Regions from separate parts of the Homo sapiens genome. Here region 2 is linked to region 1. Evidence: promoter capture Hi-C in 16 types of primary human blood cells and fetal thymus (Javierre and others, 2016). All regions are on one chromosome and are shown on one strand. The core of a region is centred on a gene start or on the middle of the fragment in contact, and the rest is flanking DNA. Distances in the headings are between cores, read along the strand shown. Region 1 holds the start of AGFG1 (ArfGAP with FG repeats 1). Region 2 overlaps RHBDD1 (rhomboid domain containing 1).

Region 1 (3,227 bases), core at 80-2,579:
TATTAGTAGTATTATATTAATATGAAGTCTCACTTTGTTGATTCACCCAATCCCTTTCATGAGAGATGTGGAGGTTGGTCTTGGCTGTTAGGAAACGTAGATTCTAATCCATTCAACAGCCCAGTGATTTGAGAACTTCAGCTCTCTGGGTCTCCCTGTACTCCTTTGGAAAACGAGAGACGAAGTTGATTGTTGCAGTGGGGATTTGGGTCCTGCAGTCTGGCTGTCTGGGTTGGAATTGAGCTTCGCCATAGGTACCCTTGGGTAAATTTACTTAATCCCTCAGGGTTTCATCTTCCTGTTTTGTAAAATGTAAATAACAATAACGCTCACCTCGAAGGGTTGTTGTGAAGATTACATGAACGATTTCATGTATTCATTCCGTCAACATTGAACACCTAGTCTCCAGCTCTGCGAGGGGAATGGGGTGGAGTGGCACAGAAAATACGGGGGCCAGGCTGTTTAGCGCCTAAAGGGAGAGTCCAGATCACCCATGGTAAACACGAAATAAGATGCAGTATTTCAAATAGCTAGAACTGAGACGAAAATACAACGCAGCAATTTGATGGAGAGCAACTTCGAGAAAGGTGAGCTGCAACATTAACTCGGCTGATCTGGGACAGTCTGGCGGGGGAGGTGACATCTGAGCCCCACCTGACTTAGAGGATGTCAGCTATGGATGATCCGGGTTTCCACACGCAGCAGTTCTCAAGCCAGGTGACTGCACCGCCCTAAAGTTCCCTCCACTTTTGGCAATGTCTGGGGATTTTTGGTTGCCAGCAATGGGAATTGGGGGGTTTGTTCTTGTATCTAGTGGGTATAGGCTAGGAACGCCGCCCAGTATCCTACAGTGCACAGGACACCCCAAGCCCCCCCAAATTAGCTGGCCCAAAGATAAAGAGAGAAGAGCAAGGGCAAAGGTCCTGCAGGAGTCAGAAAGGAGCTTGCTGTGTTCAGAAAACTCAAAATCCAGTGTGGCTGAGTGAGGACGACGAAGAATGAGGTAGACTGGGCTAGACTATGGAGCACTTTTTACGGCACGGTGAGGAATTTGGAATTATACTCAAAGCAGTGGAAAGCCCTTGAAGAGTTTTAAACAGAAGGGGAAGGTAACCCATGTGAAACGCTTTGCATATATAAGCGCTCAATAAATACTGTCTATTATTAATATTATTATCACCATTGTGTCTACCCTACTTGGCTCCAGACCCGGCCCATGCCTCAGCGAGGCCGCAGTGACTCCTCCTGGCCAGCAGAGGGCGCCAGCGGACACTTGGCTACCGGCCGCCCAGGGCGGGCCTCCTCTTGCCGTCCCCTTCCTCGTCTTTTCCCCTCAGGAGAAGTCGGGAAGGTGGCGGCGGCGGCGGCGGTTGTCCCGGCTGTGCCGGTTGGTGTGGCCCGTCAGCCCGCGTACCACAGCGCCCGGGCCGCGTCGAGCCCAGTACAGCCAAGCCGCTGCGGCCGGGTCCGGCGCGGGCGGCGCGCGCAGACGGAGGGCGGCGGCCGCGGCCAGGGCGGCCCGTGGGACCGCGGGCCCCCGGCGCAGCGCTGCCCGGCTCCCGGCCCTGCCGGCCTCCTCCCTTGGCGCCGCGGCCATGGCGGCCAGCGCGAAGCGGAAGCAGGAGGAGAAGCACCTGAAGATGCTGCGGGACATGACCGGCCTCCCGCACAACCGAAAGTGCTTCGACTGCGACCAGCGCGGCCCCACCTACGTTAACATGACGGTCGGCTCCTTCGTGTGTACCTCCTGCTCCGGCAGCCTGTGAGTGCGGGGCGGCCGGGCGGGTGTCGGGCCCTTCCCGGGAGGTGGGGGAGCGGGCGGCGGGACCGGGACCCTTCCGGGGCTGGGAAAGAGCCGGGTGCCGTGGGAGGCGGTCGGGGGCGGCCGTTGGGCGCCGGCTGGCGGGCGCGGCGTGGGAGGCTGCGGGCTGGATGCGCAGGGCCCGGGCAGCCGGGCTGGGGATGCGTTTTCGGTTTTGCCGGGCGAGGGTTTACGTTCTGGGCAGCCTTCGTGGGTGGGACGTGGGCGGGGTTGGGGTCAGGGAGGGGGCGACCGGGGCGAGCGTCCCTGGTCTCCGTCGAGCCTGCGGCCGCCGCCCTCGCTCTCCAGCTACCCGGGGCGCCGGGCTGTGGGGGGTGGGGGAAGACGCTAGGAGGCCGGGGGGGAGGTCCATGCGGGTCCTTTGTGTGCCCCGCCTCTCAGCGGCCCGGGAGCCGCGGTGCGGAGCGAGGCACCTGCTGGGCGCTCCTGCTGGGGGTCGGGGAGAAGCTGGGGTGGGAGGGAGGGACGCCTGCCTCGCCCGTGCCTTTTTTCTGGGTCGAGAGTACCTACGTAACTGGGAGGAAGCAGGCACTTAGGAATAGTAGCAGGATGAAAGCATCTTGATGGCAGATGTGAATCCCCTGGGAAAAGTTCGAAAGGATTAATTGCGGGAGGGGGAGGCAGAGGAGCAGATTTGAAGCTGTGGGATTTTAGTTTTATGGTCCGAAGAGAGTGTTGAGGAGTTGGGGGAAAGTTTTAATGGCAATAAGGTACCCACTAGGAGCTGTGTGATTCTAAATATGATGGAGTTATCTGTGAGATTTATCTGTATCTCGCTATCAATACCCGAGTGCCCTGGCTGTACACAGAAATGAGGAGAGCTAGCAAGTCACCATGATTTCAGAAAGACACTACCGTCCTGAGTTACTGGGATGATTTGTGTTTGTTGTTCTTTGCTTCATTAAGCTTTATTTTGATAAAGATTTTTATTGCCGTGCAATTTCATTCGGAAAATTTGCAGGTGGTTTTGGAATTGATAAAATGCTTTTATATTATTATCTTGTATTTAAAGTTACTAACAACGTGGCAGTTACTAAGTATTTTTAAAACCTTTGCTTGTAAGATTAATACAAAGCACATAATACTTTATGTGGGAAAATTGATTTCTTAAAACTTAGAAAATGCAGAACATGTCTAGTATGTACTATTTGCTTTTTAAAGTTGGGCAAAGAGGCATTATTAGTATTACATGAGTGTTATTTCTTCAGCAGACATTTTTTTTGGTGCCTATTAGGTTGTGTAAGGCCCTGGGGTGTGCCAGTAAATATAGCAAAGTCTTGTTCTCTTGGTTCTTACAGTCCAGTGGGGATGCAAAAGTAAGAAAAATGTCTTGGGCAAGTACTATGCTGAACATGAAAATTGTTTGATAGGAGAGTGCTCATGGTTACTTTTAGGCTGTGTGGCC
Region 2 (3,447 bases), core at 77-2,576, 570 kb before region 1:
TGGCACACTTGAGCCATTTACTCAACATATCCTTGAGTGCCTCTCATGTGCCTGGCCCTGTCCTGGGTGTTTGGAATACATATGTAAAAGCCACATAAAGGCTATGTTCTTGGAGTCTCCATCAGGCTCTTTCATAACTTTCAGTTTCCCACCTTCTGGAATGAGAGGTCACTATTCCAGGCTGTGGGAATGCGTTCATTTGCTTGGCTTTTTTTTTTTTTTAAGCTTCTAATTTTGTATAATGTATGAATGAGACACCATTGCTGCCCTCAGGGAGTTTGTGTGTGACAGAGAGAGACGGACAGGCAGGCAGACGTGTAAGTACTGTGCCACCAGCAGACTGGCTTCGTGCCAGAATAAGGTAGGAGCCTCAGCTCTGAGGGGAGGCAGGAGAAGGAAAGAACGGCTCTTCAACTGGGGTGGCATTTTTTGACAGAGGTGCTGTTTGGCTTAGCCTATGGTCAGAGAGTGCTTGGGGGATGTGACAGTGGGGCATGTGGGAATGGAGGTAGTAGACGATGAGGTCTCCACCCTCTGACTTTGCAGAGATGGGCAAGGCCAAGTGTTGGAAGGGCTTAAACACACACCGGAGTATTCTGTGAGAACCAGTGGATTTCAGAGGATGGCAATGACACCACTTGCCTTCTGCCTCAGGAGGATAACTGATGGCCGTGTGTGGGATGCACTGGAGAGCAAGAGCTGGCTTGCAGGGAGACCAGCTGGATGATTTTCTTTCATTTATTTTATTCATTCAACACACATTCATCTGGGGTTCACTCTGTGCCCAACACTGGGCATTTCCAAATAGTCCAGATGGCAGTAAGCATGGTTGTGGCAGTAGGAATGGGAAGGCTGGGAGGGGTATGAGAGGCATTACAAACGGGAAGTGGGAGTGGCACCCCAGAAAAGTCTAGTTTAAGGTGCTAGTGGATGTGTGCATGTGTGCGCGGGGGTGTCTAGAGGGTGGCGGGCAGCTGGAAATTGAGGTCAAGTGCTTAAAGAACAACTCGTTGTGTAGGACCCCCCCCTTTGTGGTAACAGCAGAGGTTTTTGAGAATCGCCAGTAATTTCTTAAACTCAGGCTGGTTGGGAGGTCATTCAGCCAGGGAACTCCACAAAGAGTGTTGCCACTTGGGTCAAAGTAGACCTCTGAAAATAAATCTTACAAGTAATTGCTGGTTTTAGATGCCAGTTTAAGAAGAGTTAAACCACTGTCATGCCCTAACGCAAACACTTTCATGCCCTAACTCATCTTTCAAGTTTGAAATTTAAATGTATGTTTCTTTGTTCTGAGTGACTGAAACATACACATGAAGACAACTTTGGTGGATGCAGGTGGGCATCTCAGTTCCTTTTGCTGAGTTTCACTTGCTCTCTGCTTCACTCATCCATGGTGTAGAAAACTGCAGCAGTCTGCCCTGCCATAACACAGATAGACATCATCCCTCACAATGGCTGGATAATTCCAGATTTAATGCCAAACAGAGAAAACTGATTTTATTTATGTTTTGTGATAAGAGGTACAGAAAAAAAACGGAAAGCGATGTAATGACTTGTCTTGACCAAATGCTTCCACTGCTCTGGAGGAGACAACCCACTTCCCCTGGTTAAGGAGGGGTGTTGCGTTTTAAACATGTGGTGGTTGTTATTCATTGTACTTTTTTTTAAGGTAGGAGATGTTGTTCTTTGGACTGAGTTAAATGCTGCTTAGCATAAAAGACTTGATGTGGAACAAAGCCTGCAGACTGTGACTATTTGACATGCACTGGGCTAATGAGAAGACAGAATGTCTCTAATCAGCAGCAGAACAAACACTCACAAAGGGTCTCCTTCCCTCCTAGGACTTCCTTCGCTGGGCATCTGGCTGGGATTCTTGTTGGACTAATGTACACTCAAGGGCCTCTGAAGAAAATCATGGAAGCATGTGCAGGTACAGAATAAAACACCTTTGGCATGACAACAGCTTGGAAGTTCATGTTAATTTTAATGTGAACAGAAGCAACCCCAAGTTTCCCTGTGGTTCAGCTCAAGAATTCCCTAATATGCCTGTTTTTCTTTTTAAACCGAAAGGTAAAACAACCAGTGCAGTTCCTTACATTGCTCCACAAAAGAGGCTGCAAACTTAAATTTCGAATCTGATACTTTCTTAGGGGACAAATATCAGTATATATTTATACCCTCAACCTTAATGCTACCCGCAGAAAACCACGATTTCCTAAAGAATGCAGAGAACTAAAGTGCCTTTAAAATAATGCATTCTTCTATAATAGTCCATGAATTAATATACGTGCAAGGCAAAGGTGAAAAAGAAAACAAAGCCTGGACTGAAGTGCATGGCCAGTATTTTAAAGAATTCAGACTGATGACCGGGTCCTTGGTGGATGAGCCATATATTCATGCATGGCGAAACCAAGTCTGTTATTGCTTGAAGCTTAGCTCCTGCTTTTTTTAATTTTGTTTTTCCCTTCAAATTGATACTCAATGAAAATATTTCATTTAGAAATACTTGTATTTTTTAGACCTCTTAATTTTCAATGCGATTCTCATTTTGACTTGTAAGAAAACTGGTTTGCAAACACTTGTTTTATAGACTGAGTTCCACTATTTCATCTTTTATTCATGGGAAGTCTTCTGAGACTATTTTACCTTTTCTTGAACCATAAATAATTTGTTTCACAGTTTGTGCTGATGACTGGTATTCTTGAGAACCATATAATATTCATGATAGTAGAAAGCTTTCCAGGCACTGCACTGGCACCTTTATTAGCAGGTCGTGTTCACTTTTGGTTGATTTTTACAGGCTGTGTTGCATTTAAGCAGATCCTCATTTTCCCACGTTTGCTTATTAATGTGTTTCCACTGTACGTACTTAGAGGAGGCAGTGGGAGCTTCATTTATTGAAAATGTCCAGTTTTATTGTATTTTCAATACAATTTAATACTCATTAGTACTGATAAAAGAGATGATTCTCGGGAGTTTAATGTCTTGTTTCTTTTTTCTGTGTCTCATGATGAAGCGGTTAGTAAAGCTTTTTGCAGACATGTTATGAAATTTAAGCAAGTGCTTTGTTTAATTTTTAAAGAGGATTTTCCCCTAATTATAATATTTAAACTCTTAGTTTTAAAAGCCTTAAAAAATAAGTGGTGACTTATTTCTACACCACTCCATTTTCAAAGTAATAAATACAATAGCAAATTAAATAGGAAAATTAGAACACTCAGTGCAATTTGCAAATAGCCTGCGAACTCGGCCTTTTTTCTGTGAGCTGAGAATTGAAGGACACAGGAACCCCATGGAAAACGACCCAGCATGTGGAAGCTGCTGTCTGATGCCTCCTGGAAGAGGAGGGTCACCCTGAGGGTGTGGCCCTTGGCCCTCCCTCTCTCATTTCATTCAGCCGTGCCAAATTGACTGAGTAGACAGTCCTACTGCCTTCTGTAGGGACAA

The links. Contacts are between HindIII fragments. The CHiCAGO score rates a contact against its expected background, and 5 or more counts as called.
Region 2: a contact is called between a fragment that was not itself captured here and the fragment with the promoter of AGFG1 in region 1, in 1 of 17 cell types (total B cells). The highest score is 5.1, in total B cells.

The regions. Positions count from the first base shown.
Region 1 is chr2:227,470,827-227,474,053 of GRCh38, forward strand. It overlaps AGFG1 (ArfGAP with FG repeats 1), which reads left to right and starts at 1,330. Exons shown (of 13, transcript NM_004504.5): 1 at 1,330-1,762. The coding sequence starts at 1,596. It overlaps MIR5703 (microRNA 5703), which reads left to right and starts at 1,306; the gene lies at 1,306-1,361. LOC124907994 (a long non-coding RNA gene) reads right to left here and starts at 1,273. Exons shown (of 2, transcript XR_007088114.1): 1 at 334-1,273; 2 at 1-163. RefSeq lists an enhancer at 243-1,206 and a silencer at 1,319-2,038. The HindIII fragment of the contact is 6,204 bases long and covers 1-2,726 here.
Region 2 is chr2:226,904,952-226,908,398 of GRCh38, forward strand. It overlaps RHBDD1 (rhomboid domain containing 1), which reads left to right. Exons shown (of 9, transcript NM_001167608.3): 6 at 1,842-1,930. Among named protein-coding and RNA genes, the nearest start is that of RHBDD1, 71 kb to the left of the region's middle. RefSeq lists a silencer at 1-45. The HindIII fragment of the contact is 2,206 bases long and covers 224-2,429 here.